6 separate regions of the Homo sapiens genome follow, and all the other regions are linked to region 2. Evidence: promoter capture Hi-C in human tissues and cell types (Jung and others, 2019). All regions are on one chromosome and are shown on one strand. Each heading gives the region's core, a stretch centred on a gene start or on the middle of the fragment in contact. The rest is flanking DNA. Distances are from core to core; before and after follow the strand shown. Region 1 has its middle 52 kb from the start of UMODL1-AS1. Region 2 holds the start of TFF2 (trefoil factor 2). Region 3 overlaps LOC105372814 (a long non-coding RNA gene). Region 4 has its middle 3.8 kb from the start of SLC37A1. Region 5 overlaps SLC37A1 (solute carrier family 37 member 1). Region 6 overlaps SLC37A1 (solute carrier family 37 member 1).

Region 1 (4,057 bases), core at 794-3,293, 190 kb before region 2:
GGTATTATTATGATATAATTTTACGATCATCATGCTGTGGCAGTTATTACCTCTGTTGCATCTGTATGGCAGAAATCCTGTGTAACAGGAGGTTTGCTAGGGCACACCGGTCTCTGCATTGAGCTTCGTCGTGTCCACAGCTTGAACCAACCATCGCAAGAGCATTTACGTCACGGAAATCAGCATGTGCTACAAATCGAGGCTTGATTTTATCGTCTTATTGATTATCTAGACTCAAGGAAATGATGAAAATCTTCGATGAACGCAGATTAATCTACAAGTGTGCTATGGTCATAACTGTTACACTGTAAATAGCATAAAACGTTGTCAAATCGTAGTTGAATTGCAGCTATAGGCTGGCTACAAATATGAGAGTTTGGCCAAAATCAACAAAAGCATCTGTGTGGACCAGTTGGCTCTATGGAATTTATGATAAAAAGTCCTGTATATTTATTATTTGTAAATTGCGTGCTTCCTTTGCATGAATAAAACTTAGAGTGGACTGACGTACAGATGTTTACACACACGTCTTTTCTGCAGAGAGCCTGTTGTTAAACATTTGCCAGCACACCACTGCCTACCCCCTGCAACCCCCACCCCGCCAGCCTCACCTTCCCGGCCCCACACTTTGTGCTCTCGTCCTCTGAGCCACGAGCACTTTCCAGAGCTCTCCTGCTGCACCGATGCCCTCTGCCCAGCATGGGATGACCCATCCCAACCATCCTCTCCCCTTGCCTGGCCCATCCTACTGGTCCCCCAGGCACGGCCCAGCAGTTATTCTCTCCAGGAAGCTGTTCTCTCCAGGAGGCTGTCCTGGCTTCTGGGTTGGGTCAGTGCCCTTCTGTGTTCTGGGGGTCCTGGGTTTTCCCCCATTGCACCCTGTGGGAATCGTGCTTGCTTCTCTGTGTTTAGGACTGGCCCCTGGCTGCCTCGTTGGTGGGGCCATAAAACTCTCCGTTTGTGCCCCAGAATCTAGCACATTTCCTACGTAGTAGATGCTCAATAAACATTCACTCAATAGAACAAACAGAATATTCACTTAAGGAGCTGGGATTGTTCTTGACTGAATACAGAGCTAGGTCTCTTCCCAGACACAGAAGGAAACAGACAAAGGAAGGGAAAGCTCTGATGGATACATGGTTCTGAAGGGGCCCTGGGTCCTGGCACATGAAGACGCTTGGGCACATGGGTGGGGAACATTGGGGAATGCCACGTCTCAGCTCCTATGACTGGAGGGCCCTTTGGACCGTTTTGGCTTCAATACAGCAGGCACCTGACATCCTTGACAGAGGAGTTTCTTTCTGCAGATGCACGAGGGATGTGGAACCCAGGACTCAGAGGGGGCAGATTAGTGTTCCCCCCAGGGGGCCCTGGGAGCCACGATCCTGCAGCCGGGGGTGCTCAGAGGATAAACAGGTGAGGCAGTTAATCGGGAGGCAGTCCTCTGGGAGCCCCAGTGCAGTCAGCAAGGCATGGAAGCCGTCTGTGTGGGCTTCCATCATGGTGGGGCACTGGGGGCCATGTGGGGTTCCTTCACTTCACGTAGGTGCAGCTCATCATGGGATGACAGTGGGGGGTTGGAGGGGACACCCTACGGGTCCCAGAGATGCCAAGTGAGGTCATCGTGATGATGGAGGTGCTGGCTGGTGGCCTCCAAAGGCAGGCAGGGGCAGGCCCTTTCCCTGTGTCCAAGTCCACATGGGCACTCTCAGGGCTATGCCCATTTGACACGAGTCTCCACGCCTGGTGAATGTTGGCACCAGCACAGCCATTCCATCGTGGCCCTGAAACCACCACAGAATACTCCATATCATGATCGTAAAACACTCAGTGCCAGCCGCAAGCTCCTCTGACGGAGGCTGTGGTTCCCACGGAGCCCGGGCGCCTGTGGCACCCTCTGCCCTCCTGCTCCATCCGGAGCCCTGGTGGCTGTGAGGCGGGGGCTCCTCTCCTGTCCCTGCCACCCCCACCAGGTGGTGGCACCCCATCCTGGGAGGCCCCCGCCTCCTCTGCCTCTTCTTCTACTTGGAGTGTGAAATCAGTGGACACGCGCTGGGGCAGAGTGCAGCACTGACCCCCGTGCTTGCTCACTCTGCAGGCGCCGTGGCAGGGGCTGGGTAGGGGGCTGCTGAGCCAGCGTGAGGGCCCTCCCCACATCCTCACCTCGGAAGGAAATGCCCTCCCTGGAGCCGCGGGGCAGTAACTGAGGTAGCACAGCTGTTGAGTGCGTGTCCGGTGCCAGGCCAGGGGGGCAACCCGTGTTGGGGACATGTTGGATGCCTCTCTGAGTCCTGGAGCCTGAGTGGCTCTAGCCCCCAGACGTTCTCCAGGAAGCTTTACTGGCCTGAGGGTCGCTCGGGAGCAGAGATGGAGGGGAGAGATGGGCCCTTCCCACTCGGCCTCCAGCAGCTCAGCCCGGCCTCTGCCCCCTGCCAACCCCCCTCCTGCCAACCCCCCTCCTGCCAACCCCCGTTTTCAGGTCTCCTTTTGGAGACAACAAGGTCACTGTGGCACAAGGACCCACAGTTCCTTATAGTCCAGAGAAATTTAGGGCGGTGGGCGGTAAGCTGGGGCAAGAACTGTTCTCAGGCAGCCCCGGCTGGAAACATCACAGATTTGTCAATGAGTTTGCAAACATGATTGAGACATCTCCGCTCAGGAGCCTTGGGCTTCAGGTGACAATGACTCACTGGCATGGGCTACCAAGTGTGTGTGTATTTGACCTCAGCGGGTTACACATGCACAACACACAGACACACAAAGACACGGACAGACACAGATACACACACAGACACACACACACACACACACACACACAGAAATATACACAGGCCGGGCACGGTGGTTCAGGCCTGTAATCTCAGCACTTTGGGAGGCTGAGGCAGGCAGATCACTTGAGGTCAGGAGTTCGAGACTAGCCTGGCCAACATGGTAAAACCCCATCTCCACTAAAAATACAAAATTAGCTGAGTGTGGTGGTGCATGCCTGTAATCCCAGCTACTCAGGAGGCTGAGGCAGGAGAGTTGCTTGAACCTGGGAGAAAGAGGTTGCAGTGAGCCAAGATCATACCACTGCACTCCAGCCCAGGCAACAGAGCAAGACTCCATCTCAAAAAAAAAAAAAAACAAACGAAACACAGAGAGAGACATACCCAAACATATACACAGACACACACACACGAATACACACAGACACACACAGAGAGACACAGAGAGACACACGCAAACACATACACACACTGACACACAGACACACATATACAGAGACACACATATACAGAGACACACATAGGTACACACAGACACAGAGAAACACACACACACACAAACACACACATACAGACATATGCACAGAGAAACACACACACAGAAGACATACAGACACACACACAGAGACACACACAGCCACATACAGACACACAGAGCCTCACACACAGGCACACATGCCGCCCTGAGGCCACACAGGCCACACTTTGTACGCAGCCCCCACCTTCCACAGGCCTCTCTGTTTGTACAAACACCGCCAAACACATCCCCCTCATCAGCCCCTTTGAGTTTTCAAAATAGTTACGATATCCTCACTCCAACAATATCTGGAGGAAGGCTGCCTTTCCCCAATTTTATTTTTCTTAGACAAAGAAACAAAGAGTCCAGGAGACGCCTGAGAGAAGACAGAGGAAGTGGCAGAGCGGGGGAGGGGAGCAGAGCATCCAGCAGCCCAGAGAAGGGGAGCAGGGAGGGGGGGACCCAGTGGAAGGCTCAGAGCCACCGGTGAGGTGGAGGACCATCACAGCCACGGATTCTGTAGGCGGACTTGTCAGGACAGAGTGGAGTGAGGGTGAGTGAGGGGCAGATTCAGATGGCTGTTCAGGGGCGAGTGTGGGGAGACTCGTGGCTGTGCGGGGGTGAGTCGGGGGAGACTTGTGTGGCTGTGCAGGGGTGAATGGGGGGAGACACATGGCTGGGCAGCAGTGAGTGGGGGGAGGCTTGCATGGCTGTGCAGGGGTAAGTTGGGGAAGACTCCCATGGCTGTGCAGGGGTGAGTTGGGGGAGACTT
Region 2 (4,424 bases), core at 1,537-4,036:
CGACACACACACAACCTTCCTTTGAGCACTCGTCGGCGTTACAACTTGGGTCCTGATCCCGTGCACTAACATAAAACTCACTCCCAAAGAACCCTAGAAGGCTTCACTTCCTTCCCTAACATTTGAGGGCTGTCAGCCCTTATGTTACTGCTGTCCTATTAAATACCTTCATTTCCCCATGGAAGCTTCTTCAGAAGTCACACTTCAAAAACTAGAGGAGACCTACTATATATATATATATTTTTTTCTCAACTAAAGTAAAACTGATGGCTCCACACACACATGTCTGTTGAAAGAACTAACAGTGTAGAAACAGGGTAGGTGGGAAATTTTCATCTCACTGTTGGCTGACCTGGGTTACCTCTAGACTAACAGTCCAGGCTGGCCCCAGGCTAACCAACCTGGGCTACCTCTAGACTAGCAGTCCAGACTAGTCCCAGACTAACCAATCTGGGCTACCTCTAGACTAACAGTCCAGGCTAGTCCCAGACTAACCAACCTGGGCTACCTCTAGACTAACAGTCCAGACTAGTCCCAGACTAACCAACCTAACCAACCTGGGCTACCTCTAGACTAACAGTCCAGGCTAGTACCAGACTAAACAACCTGGGCTACCTCTAGACTAGCAGTCCAGGCTAGTCTAAGACTAACCAACATGGGCTAGCCCCAGACTAACCAACCTGGGCTAGCCCTAGACTACCTCTAGACTAGCAGTCCTCTAGGCTACCTCTAGACTAGCAGTCCAGGCTAGTCCCAGACTAACCAACCTGGGCTAGCTCCAGACTAAACAACCTGGGCTAGCTCCAGACTAACAAACCTGGGCTAGCCCCAGACTAACCAACCTGGGCTACTAGCCTCAGACTAACCAACCTGGGCTAGCTCCAGACTAACCAACCTGGGCTAGCTCCGATTAACCAACCTGGGCTAGCCCTAGACTAACCAGCCTACGCTAGCCCTAGACTAACCAACCTGGGCTAGCTCCAGACTAACAAACCTAGGCTACTAGCCCCAGACTAACCAGCCTATGCTAGCCCTAGACTAACCAACTTGGGCTAGCTCCAGACTAACCAACCTAGGCTACTAGCCCCAGACTAATCAACCTGTGCTAGCTCCAAACTAACTAACCTGGGCTAGCCCTAGACTAACTAGCCTACACTAGCCCTAGACTAACCAACCTGGGCTAGCCCCAGACTAACCAACCTGGGCTACTAGCCCCAGACTAACCAACCTGGGCTAGCTCCAGACTAACCAACCTGGGCTAGCCCCAGACTAACCAGCCTACGCTAGCCCTAGACTAACCAACCTGGGCTAGCTCCAGGCTAACCAACCTGGGCTACTAGCCCCAGACTAACCAACCTGCGCTAGCTCCAAACTAACCAACCTGGGCTAGCCTTAGACTAACTAGCCTACACTAGCCCTAGACTAACCAACCTGGGCTAGCCCCAGACTAACCAACCTGGGCTAGCCCCAGACTAACCAACCTGGGCTAGCTCTAGACTAACCAACCTGGGCTAGCCCCAGACTAACCAACCGGGGCTAGCTCGAGACTAACCCACCCAGGCTAACCCTAGACTAGCAACTGGGCCTCCTCCGGCCCCTGCTCTGGGCTCCGCCTGTGAAGCTGGGTCCTGGGTTGCCAGCTGCTGGCCCAGGAAGATTCCCTGGAAGATTACCTTGCTTTGGGAGGGGGTGGAAACACCAGGGGACCCCAGTGACACTGGAGTCGAAACAGCATCCATTGTCAAAACACTGGTCACTGGTGATTCCAGGGAAGCCGCAGTTCGTCCTGTTATGGGGGCTCAGCCTGGAGCACTGGCAGGGGGCTGTGGAAAGACCCTCAGTCGGCCCCACCCTGGTACCCCAGACCACACTGCTCCTTCTCTCAGAGGTTCTAGGGGATGCCTCTACTGTCTTGTTGCCACATAGAGAAACACAAAGTCTTATCTTGCCCATATTTAAGCAATGCGGTTTCCTCCTGAGAAGCCGATAGGGCTTTGCTGAAATTGTTATATTAGTTTAAAAGGAAAAAAAAAAAAAAGCCAGGCATGGTGGCTCATACCTATAATCCCAGCACTTTAGGAAGCCGAGGCGGGCAGATTGCTTGAGCTCAGGAGTTCAAGACCATCCTGGGCAACATGTCGAAACCCCATCTCTACAAACAATACAAAAAAAAAAATTGGCCGGGCATGATGGTCCACAACTGTGGTTTCAGCTACTCAGGCGGCTGAGGTGGGAGGATCACTTGAGCCTGGGAGGCAGAGGTTGCAGTGAGCCAAGATCACACCACTGCACTCCTGCCTGGGCGGCAAAGCCAGATCCTGTCTCGGAAAAAAACAAAAACAAAACCCTCCTAGAGGAGGGTGAACAGATGGACCCAAGGCCAAGATCCAGGCGAGAGGTGAGTGCTCTGGGACTCCAAGGACCCTTGGTGGGAATGCCCTCCTGGCCCGACACGGGGCCCGCTGACACCTGCCGTCACTCAGCCTTTCCCTAGGAGGGAGGCCCTTCTTGGAGCCACCCTCCTGAGCAGTGGCAAATCCCATGTGAACAACACACATTGCCAGATGCCTTTATAGCCATTCCCCCTCTCAAGTTAATTTATGGTTGTGCTTTTTTTTTTTCTTTAAGAGAAATAAAGAAAGCACATAAAAAGACCCTCTCCTTCACTTACAGGGTTTCTCACTCCCCGCCAGGGCACATAGCCCCAGGACGAGGAGCGCTGCCAGGAGCTGGGCGTCTCGCCGTCCCATGTCTAGCTCAGCTGCACCCCAGGGTGGCTTGCAGAATGCATGGTGTCCACTGCCGGGTATGTTTTATAATCTCCCCTCTGTTTGTCCAACAAGCAGAGATAACCTTTCTTCTCTGCCCCGTGGCCCCAGCCCTTCCACCGTGGAGGCGAAGAGGAGGCAAGAGGCAGCTGTGCCCTGTGCAGGCGAGGCTTCCGGGCCAGGGTGACTCTCTCCCTGCTCGGTGATACCTCTTCCTGCCCTGGACAGAGAGTTGGGTCATGCCAGGCTGCCAGCGTGGAAAACCGGCCACGTGCAGGTCTGGGGCTGGGCACACACAGGGTCACACCCAGGAAGGGATAAGCTATGCATTTCTATTGATAGAGTGGGCAGGGACCACAGGAATTTAGAAAATATTAGGGCCAAGTTTACTGGGGAAAATGTACAGGCCAGCAGATAGCATGGAAAAGTCCCCTCCCTGAGGAAGGGAAGCATCTCAGAGGAGGTAAGAGACTGCTCCCAGGGCTGTGGTTAGAGCCTCCCCAACCGCAGCACGATGCCCTTTGTCCCATCTTCAGCAGGAGGGGCTGCTCTCCATGGAGATGAGGCTGACAGGGTCAGCGGAGTAGCCTGTGACAGGCAGGTTTTAATAAGTTCATTTTCAGCCAACCCCTGAAATGGGTTATTTTTGTTCCATGGGAATGCTCTACATCTTCTGAAAGATGGCACCTGGGACCCAGCCCATGGCCTTCCTGGGGTAGGATGTGCTGGAGAAGGATTCTGTGGACCTGACAGAGAAGACAGAAGCCAGAGAGTAGACACCCGGAAAGAAAGAGGGAAAAGTGTGGTGGGAAGGACAGAGGGGACCCGAAGTTCCCCACGCCAGGGAAATGACAGGGGGTTGCCAGTCTGTTTCTGATGGTTGAGCAGTCAGGGGCCCAGAGACGCAGGAAACCCAAAATCCTTGGTCCACCACGGGGCTGTCCTCAGGGTCTGGAGAGCAGGCCCCATACTCCAGGCCCCCATCCTCCAGGCCCTCGTCCCCCAGGCTCCATCCTCCAGGCCCCCATTCTCCAGGGCTCCATCCTCTAGGCCCCTGTCCTCCAGGCCCCCATCCTCTAGGCCCTCATCCTCCAGGCTCCATCCTCCAGGCTCCATCCTCCAGGTTTCATCCTTCAGGCCATCATCCTCCAGGCCCCCGTCCTCCAGGCCCCCATCCTCCAGGCCCCATCCTCCAGGCCCCCATCTTTCAGGCCCCTGTCCTCCAGGCTCTTGTCCTCCAGGCCCTCATCCTCCAGGCCCCTGCTCCTCCAGACCCTCATCCTCCAGACCCTCATCCTCCAGGCCCCCATCTTTCAGGCCCCTGTCCTCCAGGCCCTCTTCCTCCAGACCCTCGTCCTCCAGGCCCCTGTTCCTCCAGACCCTCGTCCTCCAGACCCTCATTCTCCAGGCCCCCGTCCTCCAGGCTCCATCCTCCAGGGCTCCTCTGGGTCCGGGTCAAGTACCTCCAGGCTCTCTGCTGACTGTTCACCACTGGGCAACCACAGGGACTCGATCCATGAAAACTCTGGCAAGGTCAGTTTCCTTGTTCTACATCCCTGTCACTTTAGTCACCATCATGATATAAGTGACTGAGTCATTGTTTTCTCTCATATTCCCACCCACCTCTCCTCTCTGCTTCCTCCCCATCAACTCGAC
Region 3 (3,856 bases), core at 314-2,813, 140 kb before region 2:
TGGAATGTTCTGGGAGGCTCCAGGTGGGGGTTGAGTTCTATGGTTGACCACACGGAGTCAGGGGTGGGAGGTTCCTTGGAGGAAACGTGGGGTACACAGTGGTTCCAGTTACTTCCTAGCAGGTATTTGTTATGGGTGTGATGGGAAGCTTTTAATTATTTGTGGGAAGGAGGCCTCCAGTAATTTTCCGGTATCTGTCTCTGAGACTTCTGTCTTAATCTTCAACTTTGAAGGTCATCTTGGGGCCAGATGTTATTTACTCTTTCTTCATTTGAAGAAATGGTTTCCTAGATCTTTCCCAGCCACTCTTGATTCCATGCTAATGGAAGAAAACAAAAGGAATTTGTCTGTAATACTTAACTTGTCTTGTCTTAACTTAATCTATGAAATATCTACTTGCAGTTTTTCCCCTGAAACCATCTCTCATCATCTGTCTTGCCACCATAGCTTCCAGGCATCTGCCGCCCCCCTCCCTCCACCCTGCACCTCCCTGCCTCCTTGATTTCCCTCATCTCATGGCCCCTCCTTTGCACTGACCTCCCACAGGCTGTGTGTGCTTGGTGAAGAAGGGGTCCTCTCTATAGCTGGGCTGGCTCACCAGAGGAAGCGAAGGAGCGTATCTGGATGCTGGAGACAGAATACCATTGAAGTCAAGAGTGCCAGCAAAATAGGAAACAAACAGTGGAGATTAAGCATTCTCATTTCTTTCTTCTTTTTTTTTTTTTTTTTTGAGACCAAGTCTCCCTCTGTTGCCCAGGCTGGAGTGCAGTGGCGTGATCTCAGCTCACTGCAACCTCCTCCTCCCAGGTTCATGCCATTCTCCTGCCTCAGCCTCTGGAGTAGCTGGGACTACAGGCATGTGCTACCACATCTAGCTAATTTTTGTATTTTTAGTAGAGACAGGGTTTCACCGCGTTGGCCAGGATGGTCTCAATCTCTTGACCTCCTGATCCGCCCGCCTCGGGCTCCCAAAGTGCTGGCATTACAGGTGTGAGCCACTGCACCTGGCCTCAGCATTCCCATTTCTTTCAAATGAACCAACACACAGAGTTGCTATTTGGTGTATCCAACCAGCCTTATGCTGCTGCCCTCCCTGATGACATGGTCTCTGTGTCTGACCCACTTTCCCAGGCTTCTGCTTGAAGGGCTAAGGCATGGTTTTCCTCTGCTCCTGTTCTTCTTCCTTTCTCCACTCACCTTTCCCTTCCTCCTTCCTTCCTCTCTCTGTCTCTACCTCTCTTCTTTCCTTCCTTACTTTCTCCCTGCTATGATCCAAATGTTGGTATCCTCCCCAAATTCATATGTTAGAACCTAATACCCATAGTGACAGCATTAAGAGATGCGATCCTGGGCCTGGCCTGGTGGCTCATGCCTGTAATCCCAGCACTTTGGGAGGCCGAGGCAGGTGGATCACCTGAGGTCAGGAATTCAAGACCAGCCTGGCCAACATGGCGAAATCCTGTCTCTACTAAAAATACAAAAAAAAAAAAAATTAGCTGGGCACGGTGGCATGCGCTGGTAATTCCAGCTACCTAGGAGGCTGAGGCAGGAGAATCGCTGGAATCTGGGGGGCAGAGGCTGCAGTGGGCCGAGATTGTGCCACTGCACTCCAGCCTGGGTGACAGAGCAAGACTCTGTCTTAAAAACAAAAATCAAAAAACAAAACAAAACAAAACAATAACAAAAAAAGAGATGCGGTCCTTGGGAAGTGATTAGGCCATGAGGAATGGGATTGACGAACTTATTAAATGGTTTGAAACAGGTTGAAAGGAGCCCCTTTCCTTTCTACCACGGGAGGGCACAGAAGGCACACCTATGAGGAACAGGCCTCCAGACACTGCATTTTCTGGCGTCTTGAATTTGGACTTCCCAGCCTCTAGAAGTGTGAACAATACATTTCTGTTGTTTTTAAGTTACGCAGTCTAAGGTATTTTGTTATAGGAGTCCAAATGGACTGAGACAGAAATTGGTACCAAGAAGCAGAGTGTTGCAGAGACAAAGACCTGCAGATGTGGAAGAGGCTCTGGAACTGGATAATGGGCAGAGGCTGGAAGAGTTTAGAGGAACAGGCTCAAAAGGCCTGGACTGCCAAGAGTGGACATAAAGGGTGATCCTAGTGAGGGCTGAGAAGAAGACACAGAGCCTCCGAGATTATGTAAGTGGCTGTGATCAGAATGCTGATAGAAGTATGGATGGTAAAGGCCACTCTGTTGAGGTGTCAGACAGAAATGAGGAACGTGTTACTGGAAACGGGAGGAAAGGCCATTCTTGTGACAGAGGGCAGAGGACTTGGCTGAACTGTTTGTGTCCTCATGTTCTGTGAAAGTCAGAGTGGCAAGGGATGAACTTGAATATTTGGTGGAAGAAACACTCTAAACCATGTCTTGAGGACACTGCTTACCTTCTCTCCACTGCTTATGGTAAAATGTGAGAAGGGAAGAAATCAATTAAAAACAGATTTTTTTTTTTTTTTTTTTGAGACGGACTCTTGCTGTGTTGCCAGTGGCACAATCTCGGCTCACTGCAAGCTCCGCTTCCCGGGTTCACACCATTCTCCTGCCTCAGCCTCCCGAGTAGCTGGGGCTACAGGTGCCCGCTACCATGCCCGGCTAATTTTTTGTATTTTTAGTAGAGATGGGGTTTCACCATGTTAGCCAGGATGGTCTCGATCTCCTGACCTCGTGATCCGCCCGCCTTGGCCTCCCAAAGTGCTGGGATTACAGGCATGAGCCACCGCACCTGGCCTAAAGACAGAATTTATAGTCAAAAAGGAGGCAGAACTTGCAGAATATTCTCAGCCTGACCATACTGTAAAGAATAAAAAAGCATGTTTAGAAGATCAAGGGTGTAGCCAAACTAGCGTTTCAGGCAGAGATTAGCATGGACAGGCAGAAGCCAGGTGCTGTGCATGAAGACAGTGACGGCATAACCCTGAAGGTGTTTCAGAGGTTATTATTGCTGCCCTCCCATCACAGGCCCAGGGTGCCGAGGTCTGGGGGACAGAACTATGCCCACAGAGGTGCCTGGAGTGCCTGCAGGACCTCGGCACCTGCTGCAGTGTGTCTCCCTCAGAGGGCACAATCAATAAACCTTGGGCTTCTGTGCAGGGCCATCTCCATGGGTGTGTAGAGGGTAGGAGCTATGGAGGCATGGCTAACTCCATCTGGATTTCAGAGGATGCTTTGGAGAGCCTTGGGGTCCAGGCAGAGAACTGCCACAGGGGCAGAGCCACTGCAGAGAGCCCCCACCAGGACAATGCCCAGTGGAGGTGTGGGGGCAGGGCCACCTGAAGACCTCAGACTAGCAGAGCCACTGACGTGCACCTCCAGCCTGAGAGAGCCACAGGCAGGAGACTCCAGCCCATGAGAGCTGCAGTATGGGCTGTGCCCAGCAAACCCATGTAGGAGGTGCCACCCAGAGCCCTGGGGGCCTAAGTCCCTCCTTAGAGTGTTCAGAAGGTGGGACCATGGAGTCAAAGAAGATATAATGCTTTTTGCCCTGTTGGGTTTTGGACTTACTTGAGACCTGTTATCGCTTTCTTCTTTTCTGTTTTTCTCTTTTTGGATGGAAGTGTCTGCCCTGTGCCTGCCCCATCCTTGCATTTTGGAAGCACATAACTTGTGTGACTTCACAAGTTCACCGCTGAAGGAATTTGCCCCAAGAGGACATTTACCTTGAGTCCCACTCACATCTGATTTAAATTATGTGTAGCTGGGACTCTGGGCTTTAGACTTTTTATTTGGTGCCGGGAACAATTTAAGACTTTGGGCCCTATTGAGATGGAATGAACATATTTGGCATGTGAGAAGACTGAATTCTGGAGGGCCAGGGGTGGAATGCTATGGTCTGAATGTTG
Region 4 (3,933 bases), core at 254-2,753, 160 kb after region 2:
CAGAGGGAACTTTAAAGAACAGCCCCTTGATTTAAGCCACACAGTTTACCAAACTATAACTGGACTGAAGAGTACGCTCTTTTTTTTTTTTTTTTTTTTTTTTGAGGCGGAGTCTCGCTCTGTTGCCCAGGCTGGAGTGCAATGGCGCAATCTCAGCTCACTGCAAACTCTGCCTCCCGGGTTCAAGCAATTCTTCTGCCGCAGCCTCCCCCGTAGCTATGATTACAGGTGCCCGCCACCATGCCTGGCTAATTTTTGTATTTTTAGTAGAGACAGGGTTTCACCATGTTGGCCAAGCTGGTCTCGAATTCCTGACCTCAGGTGATCCACCTGCCTCAGCCTCCCAGAGTGCTGGGATTACAGGCATGAGCCACCGTGCCTGGCCTAAGAGTATGTCTTTTTGCAGACCCCATAAAAATTTTCCAACTTGCTTATCTCATGTATTTGCACTAGCTCAACTGCAAGAATGACTCCTTAGTTGATGGGTCAGTTTCCTATTTCCACATACCTGACCTCATTCTACCTATAGGCATAAACTCAAGAGGAATTTACAACAGATGGGCTCAGGCAACAAGTTAGCCCCAGAGTGGAGCTCAGCTACAGAGGAATGCTTCACTGAAAGAAATGTGAGTCCCTGAATCTGATTCAAGCCTTTATCAAGTCCTACTTCAGTTAGAATCCAGTTTACTCCCCAAATACCCGTGAGCACTCTCTCAGTTACTATTTCCCTTGCTACACATATAGAAGAAAAGCAAGAAAGTTACTCTGCTGGGAAACACTGCCAAGGGGTCTTAGAAGCAAGAAAATTTGCCTATTTTATACAGGTAGTTTAAAGAGAACCACCCTTATAAATGGGTGTTTGTCCCCTTATTATTTCAGGACACTTGAAAGCTCCTCTCCTCCAATATGTCTCTAATTCAAGTATCACAGTGTCTAAAATTCTACCACTAAAATGCCATTACCTAAATTAAGCACAGCCTTCTGTCTTTATGTTGATATTTCTTTAAATATCATGCCAATAGTTTTAAAATCAAATGATACTAAAGGTATATAACAACAAACAGTCGGGCCTGGCTTTATCCCTTCAACTCCTCTGTCTCATTCCCCTACCATTTTCTACTCTTTTACCCATTTCTTCTGGTAGTTCCCTATATTTCTAAATAATATGAGTAAACTATGATTTTTATGTCCAATTTTAAAGCTTTTCTATGGACCTCTGGTTTTAGAGACAACATCTAGTTCTCTTACATCCCTTGCCACTTCCCCTGATGCTGTAGGACAGACAGGTCTGTCCCACCCACGGTGACTCAGTCATTGTTGTTCATGGCCGCTGCCCGTTCTTCACGATCAAGGAGGAGAATTCTTTGGAGGAAACAGAGCTTTCATACGTGAATCGACTGGGAAGCGAGTCAAAAGTACTGCAACTGGAAGTGTGGCATGGGGAGGGGGCCGTGGCCAGTCTCCTCACTGGGCTCCTGTAGGACTGGGAACGCCTACTCCTTCACACCTAATTATGTTTGCTGGATTGGGTTATAGTTCTTCAGTGTGTGGACTCTTGTCAGTTTTATATCCGTAGGCCGAGCACAATGCCTGGAATACAGAGCATGCTTAATAATCAGAGGCTTTTCATTGTATTTCTTATCAACAACACTAGTAACTGAATATAAATCACCCTTCCTCGCCAGTCAGTGCACCATACCATTAGAATTCTTGCTTTTTGATCAGTGGAGATAAAATGAGTTTCTTTTCTCCATGTTAAGTAATCAGGTTCTGATTTTCCCTTTTCTTTCTCTCTAATAGTGTTTAATGCTCTAATGCTTTCTAAGCATGAGGTATTTTCTTGAGCTCTGAAGCCCAGTATCTTCAAAGCCCCCTTCAGGGAAACCTCAGTTCCCTGTCAGTCAAGGCCTGTCACTGGCTTTGCCTTGGCCTTCTCTGGGAGAATGTCTGCTCCTTAAGTTGATGGCATACAAGTTGAGGTGGGGAAAAATTAAAGTGTAGGATTTCTGTAGGCAGCTAATGTTTTATTACTGGAGTGCAGTGATGCGATCTCAGCTCACTGCAACCTCTGCCTCCTGGGTTCAAGCAATTCCCCTGCCTCAGCCTCCTGAGTAGCTGGGACTACAGGCACACACTACCACGCCCAGCTAATTTTTTGTATTTTAGTAGAGATGGGGTTTCACCATGTTGGCCAGGATAGTCTCGATCTCCTGACTGCATGATCTGCCCGTCTCAGCCTCCCAAAGTGCTGGGATTACAGGCGAGAGCCATAGCGCCTGGCCTAAAATGTATTATATAAGCATCATAGTGACCACAAAACAAAAACCTGCAGCAGATATACAAAATGTAAAGAGAAAGGAATCAAAGCATACCATTACAAAAATCATCACATTAGAAAGGAAGATAGTAAGGGAGTAACAAAGCAACAAAGGAACTACAAACCGCCAGAAAGCAATTTTTTAAATGGCAGTAGTAAGTCCTTATCAATAATTAATGTAAATGGATTAAATTCTGCAATCAAAAGATAGAAGTGGCTGAATGGATATTAAAAAAAAAAAATCTAGGTGCTGCCTGCAGGAGACTCAGCTTTAAGGATACACATAGGCTGAAAGTAAAGGCATGGGAAAAGATATTCCATGCAAATGGTTACCAAATAGAGAGCAAAAAAGATACTTATATCAGACAAAACAGACTTTAAGTCAAAAACTTCATAAGAGACAAAGTCACTATATCATGATAAAGAGATAAATTCATCAAGAGGATATAACAATTATAAATGTATATGCACCCAACATCAGAGTACCTAAATATATATTAACGGAACTCAAGAGAGAAATAGCAATACAGTAATAGCAGGGTACTTCAGTACCCCATTTTCAACAATGAATAGATGATCCAGACAGAAGATGAATAAGGAAACAGTGAACCTGAATAACATTCTAGAGCAAATGGACCTAACAGACATACAGAACACTCCTTCCCCCAGCAGCTGAATGCACATTTAAATGTACACAGAACATTCTCTAGGATAGATCATATGTTAGGCCACAAAACAAGTTTTAACAAATTTAAGAAGATTAAAATCATATCAAGTATCTTTTCTGACCACAATAACATGAACTAGAAATCAGTAACAGGAGGAAAATTGGAAAATTCACAAATATGCAGAAATTAAATACACACCTGAACAACCAGTGGGGTCAAAGAAGATATCAAAAGGGAAATCAGAAAATTCCTTAAGACAAATTAAAATGGAAACAACATACCAAAACGTATGGGATGCAGCAAAAGCAGTACTAGAGGGAAGTTTATAAAGAAAATGTGGTGTATAGCTGTATCTACACAATGGAATACTATTTAGCCTTAAAAAAGAAGGATTTCCTGTCATTTGCAACAACATGGATGAACCCGGAGTACATTACACTAGGTGAAATAAGCCAGGTACAGAAAAACAAATATAGGCCAGGCATGGTAGCTCACTTCTCTAATCCCAGCACTTTGGGAGGCTAAGGCAGGAAGACTGCTTGAACCTGGGAGTTCAAGACCAGCTTTGGCAACATATCAAGACCCTGTGTCTACAAAATTTAAAAAATTAGCTGGGCATGGTGGCATGGGCCTGTATTCTCAGATACTCAGGAGGCTGAGGGGGAGGATCACTTGGGCCTGGGAAATCAAGGCTGCAGTGAGCCTTGACCATTGCACTCACGCCACTGCCCTCCAACCTGGGCAACAGAACAAGACCCTGTCTCAAAACAAACCAACAAACAAACAAAAAAGAAAAATATGCATGACCTCACTTATTTTTGGAATCTGAAAAACTTGAACTCAGAGAAGCAGAGCATATAATAATGGTGGTTACCAGGGGCAGTAGGTGGGAGAAATGGGGAGTCGCTGGCCAAAGAGTACAAAGTTTCACTTAGGAAAGATGAGTAA
Region 5 (4,163 bases), core at 1,395-3,894, 220 kb after region 2:
CCAGCATCCTTCCATCTGGCCCGTGCTCCACTTTCCTGACAAGCCCGCTTCATTCCCTCTCATGCCTCCTGTCCCCCGACCCCTCCCTTGGCACCTGCAGGCCTCCACCAGGCTCCCTCTGCCACGTGCACAGCTGCTGCTGGTTTAGCATGGGCCGCGCGCAAGCTGCTCCTCTCTTTGGGGTGCCCCCTTGCCCCAGACAAGCTCCTGCCCATCCTTTGGGATCCGCAACACCTCCCCAACCTCTTAGGCATCGTTGACACCTCCCGTCATGATGCATGGTGCATAGTGCTTTTCAGGCATTTCGTAGCTCCTGACCTTGGGCTGTGACACCCCCCTCTATGCCCCAGTTCCCTCATCTGGAAAATGGGACGTCAGTATCACCACCTTGCAGTGGGTTAGAAACAATGCACATGGTTACTGTTTTTATCATCGTAACATTAGAGGTAACAGGCTTGTCAGTGGACGCTGTAGCTCTGCGCGTCTGCCCCTCCGCTAGCCCCAGAACAAGGCCTGGCTTTCAGCCATCTTGGGGTTCTGGACATGGCCCAACACAGAACATGAAAGAATGCTGAGTGAAGAAATGCTTGGGTGGGCCCCTTGCTGCCACTGGGGGGTGGGCAGCCTGAGGACTTGGCAGTCAGACTCGCAAATCAGGAGCTCAAGAAGGCAGCCCCTTGGCTGGGTAGGAGCTCAGGAAGGCTGCCCTTGGCTGGGGGTGTAAGGTGGGAGCACCCTGCAGACTTCCCCAGGTCGCCTGGGGTGCTTGGTCCAAAGCCCTCGTGGTGGGGACAAGGCTCAGTACCTGAGACGGGAGGGGGCGTGGCCGTCACGCTTTTTTAGGGGTTTCCACTCTTGGGATGGCTGCCTGAGAATCACCCGCCGGGTTTTTGAGAAGTAGATTTCCAGCAATCTCGCACTGCTTGCAGCCAGCCATGGCTTTGACCTTGTGTCTTGATGTCCACAGCTCTACATCTTCTCCACCGTCAGCAAGATGGGGCTTGAGGCCACCATCGGTGAGTATGGAGGCCTTCCTGCTTTTCTTCCACACACGTTTTTAAAGTTCACACAGCTGGCAAGATGAAATACTAAAATCAACAGGCGCATTGAGCTGGTTTAACTGGAGCACATGGTGTGGCTAAAATTGTCCGTGTCCTCCTTTGGGCAAGACCATCTGGAGAGGCCGGGGTCTCCTCTCCCCAGTGCGAGGCTTGCCATTCTGTGGGTTTCACTGTGAGCTGGAAGTGTGCAAGCCTGGTCTGGGGCAGTGGCCCTGGGCACTCAGTGGAGAAGCCAGATGTGACCTTGAGGGCAGCCCCTCCTGGGGCCTTGGTGGGGCTGGCGGGGCTGCAGCAGCCTGCGACCTGCCACCTGCACCCTGCACCCCTGGTGGTGAGAGCAGCTCAGGCTGGCTCTTGGGCCACGTCAGGTAGCCAGGAACCTGGCGGTGTGACCTGAACAGGGTCCGGCCAGGAGCCAGGGCAGGTGGCCCCCCAGCCACCTCCTCCCAGCTTTGTCAGCTGCCCCTCCAGGAGCGGTTGCGTAACCTTGGAGGACTATTTTGAACACCCTGCAGGCAGCGCTATCAAACTATGCCTCCAGCACTTAGAAGTATGCTTTCTGTCCTAATGAGCCAGCAGTGGGGATGTGTGGTCCCCTTAAATGTTATCCAGAAGGCAGCTTGCCCACAGGAGAGGAAGCGGAATTTCCTGTGACCCCCCCTCAGGCCAGAAGCTTCCTCACCTGAGTGTGAGCCTAGAGGAGAGTTTAGGAAATGACCTGGTCCGGAGAGAGGGTGGGGGTCTGCCCTCAGCGAGCACCACAGCAGCTGTGGGTGAGGAGAGGAAGGCCTTTCTGCTGCAGATGAAGCAGGGGTCAGCCCAGGCCCAGGGTCCGGCCTGTGATCGCTCCCTCATGGTGGCAGCTGCTGCCCTTCGAGGGTGGATGAGCCTGAGTCTTAGGGAGGGTATGATTTGCTTTAGCTCCTCACTAGACAAGTTTAGAGGAAGCTGTTTCTGCTGCATCCCCTCCCTGTGCTCCCCAGGCGCCCACCTCAGGCTGCTCCTATGCATGCGGGGCTCTCTGGAGGGCACATTTCCATTCTTTGCCCCTCTGCCTCCCACAGCCATGCTGCTGCTCAGCGGAGCCCTGGTCAGTGGGCCCTACACACTCATCACCACCGCCGTCTCCGCCGACCTGGTGAGTAGAACCGGGAGAGACACCAGCCCTGTGGGCACCCTGCCATGTGCCATTCATGACAAAAGTGGCCTCCATTACTGTTAGTAAAACTGCATTTGCAGAAGCACGTTTTTGGCAGCTCACCTACACCTGTGGTCTCCAGCCTTCCCGCACCTGCCCCGCTGCTCACCCTTCTCCTAAAATCATGGGCAGGTTGGTGCAAAACTCACCGTTCAGCACAACAAAAGGCTCTTGGGCGCCATCCTCATGACTCAGGCGCCTTTTCAATCCAAGGGGGCAGGGGAGAGGTCCTGTCCTGGACGCCTCTGCAGAGAGAGAGGGGCCACGAAGAGGCGCTGGGGGATTCGGCCCTTCTCATCCAGGTACCATGCCCTGCCTTGGTCACCTTTGTATTGGACGTGTCCTGAAACTGCCTGAGTGTGCGTGAGCATGCAGACTTGTGTCTACATGGGCATGGAAAATTCTGGAAGGATCCACATCAGACCATTAGCAATGGTCAGCCTTCACGGGGTAGAGGCAGAGGAGAGACTTTCACTTATTTTTTAGACTTCAAAATACGTAGGTTCTGGATGATTTTCATATTGTGTGTTCTTTATTTTATATACATATTACGTGCATATACAAGCATTTATTTTTTTGAACGCTGGTTCATTTTTATAGTTTTAGGCTTCTAGGCACTGTTTCCCCTGATCTTTTTCCCCTCCTATTGTCCTCATTTTGGCTTTTTTCCCATTGTCTATGCAACATTTTCAAAACCAGAGCTCCTGGCGGCTGCTCACCGAGGACCTGCGCCAGCCTTGGTTTCTCAGCTCTCCCCTCCTCCCTTCTTCCCCTGGCGTTTGCTATTGATCAGGTTGAATTTTAGGTCCTGCAGAGACATCTGACAGGGGTCCCAGGAAGGCCCTGGCTGTCGAGGAATCCAGCAGACACGTGGATGTGTCTGGGAAGGAAGGCCGGCGCAGCTCAGGGCAGGGGCGCGCGTTGCGCACCTTCACGCCTCTCACGCTGGCTGCTCTGGGGCCTCAGGGAGGAGCAGGACTGTGCGGAACAAACGTTTTTTATTTGAAGAGAATCCTAAGAGTTCTTGTAACTAGAACCAAGCATTTCTGATGACTTTTGACTCTTAAAAACCCTTGAAGTTTTAACTCTCCAAGGCAAGCTTGGGGTGGAGTTTAAATAATGGGAAACACCCTCACGATGAGTTGTTTTGCAGAGCAGTTTGAGTAAATGGTCATACAGAGGCTTAGGTTTACTTCTCATGCTGTGGCGATAACTGCACGTCTGTTTTTCCTCTCTTCTAGGGGACTCATAAAAGTCTGAAAGGCAACGCGCACGCCCTCTCCACCGTGACGGCCATCATTGACGGGACGGGCTCTGTAGGTGCGCAGAGAGTTTTAGCTCTGGGAGGTTTGGTGTCTTAGGGGAAATCACATTGTCACATGCTCGTGAACAGGTACCCAGGGTTCCAACTGCATCTATAACATTGGGTGGGCCGGCTTCTTACTATACGAGCAGATGAGCAGGGGACATCGGCACACAGAGATGGTCACGCATGCCTGGGTGGCTTCAGAGAGACGGGCGTGTGACTAGCTGTGCGTGTCCAGGTTTTCACCCGAGGCAGTGGTTGGCAAACTACAGCCCGTGGGCTAACTCAGGTCCACTCATTATTTATCGCCTTCATCTCAAGAAAGGCAGAATCTTATTTAAATTACAGAAAAACCAATTGGTCCAAAATCATACAGGGTTCTGAGTGTTACCAGCATCGTCGAAGCTCTTGAAGAGAATTCAGTGGCATATTCTGGAATTTAAAAAGGTGGCAGAATAAGCAAGCCATCCCCTTAGGGAGCAGGCAGGTGGAGCTGGCAGAGTGCCAGTCTCCTCGCCCATGTGCAGCCTGACGGCACGGCTGTGGCCTTCCCTGAGCCCTTGTATGGGGAGCACGCACAGTGGCTGCACCTGCCAGG
Region 6 (4,142 bases), core at 489-2,988, 180 kb after region 2:
ACTTCCATGCCTCTCAAGTTGTTGACTGTGGAAAACGTTTGCAGACCTTTGAAAATGTGGTTTTTAAGAGAGAAGAATATGAAAAGAGGTGGTGGGCCTTAAACACTCATCCGCTTGACAAGAAACTCTCAAATCAGTACCAGTAACCAGTCATTATAAATCTGAATACTACTACTTCTTGTCTTTCTGGTTAGAGAAATATACAAACAGCTCAAGAAAATGGTAAATTATAAAGATGGAAGTGACTATTGAAGAGACTTGGTGAGCGTGTTGGAGTTGAAGGATCTGGTGTAGTTGGGGAGCTTGTGTGGGGTTTCAGGATTGACCTAGAAAGGTTGGGTGTGGATTGTAGGGGAAGAAAAACAGCTTTACAGGTGGGAGAACTGCCTTGAGTGCTACGTGCAGGGATGGGCATCTCCATGAAGGCACCACCTGTTGGGCTGGGGGGCTGTTGGGGCAGATGTAGCGTGTAAGGTGGGCTGGCCTTTGGGGGAATCTTTGTCAGGCCACAGCTGTTGGGGTCCACCTGATGACTATGAGGGCCCCTGTGAGCCAGGAGCAAGTGGGAGCCCTGTCCCGGTCCCTCTCCCGGCTTTCCTGGTGGTCCATCTCAAAGCCCCCGCCCCTGACTCTCGTGTGTAGTGGTGTCCAGGCCACTCAAGACTTAGGGCTTCTGAGGAGGCGGCGTCAGGGTCAGCTCTTAGTTCAGTGTCATAAGTAACAATATAAATAACTGCCGCTTACAGAGCCCTGGGGTATGACAAACTGCCACATACATTACCCCTGTGATCCTCACAGCAACCCTGCGAGTGCCCCTGTGAGGAAATTGAGGCTCGGGTCTTCGTTCCCCAGGCAGGGCTGCCACACACTCGAGAATTCCCTGTGGGTCAGGCTGCCTCCAGGGCCCCTACTCATCCTCTCTGTGCCTCAGGGTTTGTCCGGGTTTAATTACCTGAGTACAGTCCCAGCATCACCCTCAGAGCCTCCTAAACGCACAGATTTCCTGACCTAGCAGCTGCGATGTGCCTGGGCATGGATTGGCTTGACGCTGAATCCTGTGGGTTTCTTTACCTTTCAAGATAGATCAGAACATCACACCACATCAAAACTAAACTTTATAGTGCCTTCTGAAGCGCCCGTGTGCTTGAGCTCATGATATAAATGGCATCAACGAAACTGAAAGTAGTAGTGATTCTGTTGACCCACAAAACAGTTGAGTGATTATTTATAGCCTGCATTTCCCAGAATATTGTAAGCAAAACCAAAGCAAAATGTATTTGCTTACTTGAAATTGAACCAGAGGCTGTGAATTAGAAAGTGAGTCTTATTCTGTTATGTCATTTATAGAATGACACGGCACACCAGGTCACATTTAAGTTAGTTAAATGGAATGTTTAGACTTACCTTTGATCACTGCTGATTAATTGTATTTTTCTCGATGATGATGATAAAACCAGGGCTGGGAGGATAGTGGTGTTATAAGTGCAACCCTGTCCCTTCTATCTGCTGCTCCAGCTGTGGCCTAGCCTCAGGACTCAAGGCAAGCGTCTGCCCAAGCTGGTAGACAGGTGAGTCTGACTCCCAGCAGAGATCTTAGTGCGAGCTCTTTTCACCTGGACTGGGCCAGAAAAGAAACCTGAAAGCAGAGGCTTCCCGGAGAAGCTTAAACTGCAGGGGTCCCTGGAGCCAGGGGGATGGCAGCATTGATTTGAATGTGAGTGTGCCCACCCCTCTCTGGACACACAGGACTTAAAAGGAGAAAACTGGCTAGGCGCAGTGGCTCACGCCTGTAATCCCAGCACTTTGGGAGGCCGAGGTGGGCGGATCACCTGAGGTCAGGAGTTCAAGACCAAACTGGCCAACATAGTGAAACCCTATCTATACTAAAAATACAAAAAAAATTAACCAGGCATGGTGACAGGCGCCTGTAATCCCAGCTACTGGGGAGGCTGAGGCAGGAGAATAGCTTGAATCCGGGAGGCGAAGTTTGCAGTGAGCCGAGAGCGCACCATTGCCCTCCAGCCTGGGCGACAAAGTGAAACTCCATCTAAAAAAAAATGAAATAAAATAATCCTCAGTGGCAGACAGAAAACAAAGTCTGAAAAGCTGGAAGTATGTACTATGGGTGGGAAACTTGTTATTTGGAAAGTTCCAATTCTCCCAGTGTTAATATTTAAATAAAATGCAACTCCAGTGAAAATCTTAGCAGGGTTTTTTTTAATTGAATAAAATAATCTTAAAGTTTGTATGAAAGAATGTCCAGGAATTATCAAGAAAAGTGTAAAGATAACATTTTATGATATGAAAATATGCAAAAGATTAACATATTTTAATACCATAATCAAATTATGATATTACATGAGAATAGACAAAAAAGTCAGTAGAATAGATTAGAAAATATGGAATATTTGACAGAGCTTATTTAATAAATTTAATAAATGGTGTCGGCACAACTGGTTATTCGTCAGGAAGAAATAAATGTTGAATCCCTATTTTATAAAAACAAATGGCCCGGGCACTGTGGCTCACACCTGTAATCCCAGCACTTTGGGAGGCCGAGGCAGGTGGATTACCTGAGGTCAGCAGTTCGAGACCAGCCTGACCATCTCTACTAAATGTACAAAAGTGAGCTGGGCATGGTGGCGGGCACCTGTAATCCCAGCTACTTGGGAGACTGACGCATGAGAATCGCTTGAACCTGGGAGGCGAATGTTGCAGTGAGCCGAGACCACACCACCGCACTCCAGCCTGGGTGACATGAGTGAGACTCCATCTCAAAAAAGTAAAATAAAATAAATGGATTAAAGACATGAATGTAAAATACAAAAAGTACAAATCCAAGAAGAAAATTATGTTTATCGTAGGAGTGAGTGTGAAGTTAGGAAACCCAAAGAAACAACGGGCAAGGGGGATGAACAAGCAGTTTACAGACACGGAATTCAGATCGCCAGGAAATATGTGAATGGTGTTCGAGTCTGCCGGTATTCCATATGCAAATTAAGGCAACACTGTGCTCAGTGGCTGGCACAGCATTGCCCAGGGCAGTAAGCGCTATTCACTGGTCGTGAGGGGAGAGGAGTTTTCATGCGTTCTTGATGGGATGTCAAGCGTTAGCGCCTTTTGGTGACACCCAGTGAAATAAAAAACACTACAGCCTTCAGACATACTTCTGGGAATTTCACCCTAAAAATAAAAGCACCTTACTTAGGAATATCTTCATAAGCATCTTTATGGCAGCTTTGTAGTGACCAAAAAAAGCAAAAAGGAAAAAAAAACAATGCTGGATATCAAGGGAACCTAATAAGTAGGTAAAAGTTTGAATAAATTATCACAAGTCCGTATTATGAAATGTGCAGGTCCCTAAAAGAATTCATCACAGGCAAACCAGTTGACTCAGAAACATTTCCAGGAGGTACTTTGAGTAAGAAGTTAACATGTGCATAAGGATGTATAGAATGATTCCATTTTTGAGAAGTAAACAATGACCAAGAAGCTCCTCCATCTATTTCTGTATCCTTCATGAGTGGAGCATTTGCGTGTCTGTCCCTGAGTGTGTATAATGCATTTCACGTGGCACCTGTGACTCATCGCAGGAGGCTGGCCGTGGGCAGGTGCTGTTGTCTGTGGGGGAGAGCCTGGCTGGTCGCTCCTACTTTTGGTACCAAAACTGTAATTGCTCTTCCAGGACTTAGATAATGCTTTGGAGAATTCTTGTAGCCTTATAAAAGGAATGTGAAGGACTGGTTAGAATCAGTGCACCCACACAGCCTAATGAGCCACGTAAAGTTGACTAGACAGATCGTCAAATGCAGATGATACACACACACACACACACACACACACACACACACACACACACACACACACACACACACACCCCCTCTGTGTTGGCTGAAGGTGGAGTGAAACTGGCCTAACCCCACTGTCCTCCAGGGGGATTCAGTGAGGCCTGAATCCCCTGCTCCTGTCCTGTCCTCTCACTGTTGCCTTTCAGTGGCTCCTGCACCCTCCAGACTGCCTGATAATCTCCTCTATTGGAGGCCACGTACCTGCTGCAGAGAATGTGTCGCGTGGCTGTAGTCTTAGGCAACTTAGGTGGGGCTGAGAACCCAGGGCCACTTCTGTCTGCGAAGTGGCTCAAA

What was found. The method cuts DNA at HindIII sites, captures the fragments that hold promoters and counts their contacts. A contact is called where the count stands out against the background at its distance.
Region 1: a contact is called between a fragment that was not itself captured here and the fragment with the promoter of TFF2 in region 2, in 1 of the 25 tissues and cell types used here (lymphoblastoid cells).
Region 3: a fragment that was not itself captured here is called in contact with the fragment with the promoter of TFF2 in region 2 in 1 of the 25 tissues and cell types used here (lymphoblastoid cells).
Region 4: a contact is called between a fragment that was not itself captured here and the fragment with the promoter of TFF2 in region 2, in 4 of the 25 tissues and cell types used here (IMR-90 fibroblasts, lymphoblastoid cells, mesenchymal stem cells and 1 more).
Region 5: a fragment that was not itself captured here is called in contact with the fragment with the promoter of TFF2 in region 2 in 2 of the 25 tissues and cell types used here (H1 embryonic stem cells and lymphoblastoid cells).
Region 6: a contact is called between a fragment that was not itself captured here and the fragment with the promoter of TFF2 in region 2, in 5 of the 25 tissues and cell types used here (IMR-90 fibroblasts, adrenal gland, hippocampus and 2 more).

What each region holds. Positions count from the first base shown.
Region 1 is chr21:42,158,311-42,162,367 of GRCh38, forward strand. No RefSeq gene overlaps it. Among named protein-coding and RNA genes, the nearest start is that of UMODL1-AS1, 52 kb to the left of the region's middle. The HindIII fragment of the contact is 8,913 bases long and covers 1-4,057 here.
Region 2 is chr21:42,348,208-42,352,631 of GRCh38, forward strand. It overlaps TFF2 (trefoil factor 2), which reads right to left and starts at 2,787. Exons shown (of 4, transcript NM_005423.5): 1 at 2,672-2,787; 2 at 1,674-1,823. The coding sequence starts at 2,750. LOC105372815 (a long non-coding RNA gene) reads left to right here and starts at 4,086. Exons shown (of 3, transcript XR_937755.3): 1 at 4,086-4,424. The HindIII fragment of the contact is 10,226 bases long and covers 1-4,424 here.
Region 3 is chr21:42,210,248-42,214,103 of GRCh38, forward strand. It overlaps LOC105372814 (a long non-coding RNA gene), which reads right to left. Exons shown (of 3, transcript XR_937748.4): 2 at 538-627; 3 at 1-319. It also overlaps a transcript of ABCG1 not described here. Among named protein-coding and RNA genes, the nearest start is that of ABCG1, 7.0 kb to the right of the region's middle. The HindIII fragment of the contact is 4,311 bases long and covers 1-3,719 here.
Region 4 is chr21:42,508,044-42,511,976 of GRCh38, forward strand. It overlaps a transcript of SLC37A1 not described here. Among named protein-coding and RNA genes, the nearest start is that of SLC37A1, 3.8 kb to the right of the region's middle. The HindIII fragment of the contact is 5,149 bases long and covers 1-3,933 here.
Region 5 is chr21:42,564,860-42,569,022 of GRCh38, forward strand. SLC37A1 (solute carrier family 37 member 1) reads left to right here. Exons shown (of 20, transcript NM_001320537.2): 15 at 968-1,016; 16 at 2,126-2,199; 17 at 3,501-3,579. Among named protein-coding and RNA genes, the nearest start is that of LINC01671, 48 kb to the right of the region's middle. RefSeq lists an enhancer at 833-1,753. The HindIII fragment of the contact is 4,706 bases long and covers 292-4,163 here.
Region 6 is chr21:42,526,779-42,530,920 of GRCh38, forward strand. The region is part of intron 3 of SLC37A1 (solute carrier family 37 member 1); the gene reads left to right. It overlaps LOC107987299 (a long non-coding RNA gene), which reads right to left. Exons shown (of 2, transcript XR_007067878.1): 2 at 1-2,047. Among named protein-coding and RNA genes, the nearest start is that of SLC37A1, 15 kb to the left of the region's middle. The HindIII fragment of the contact is 7,112 bases long and covers 1-4,142 here.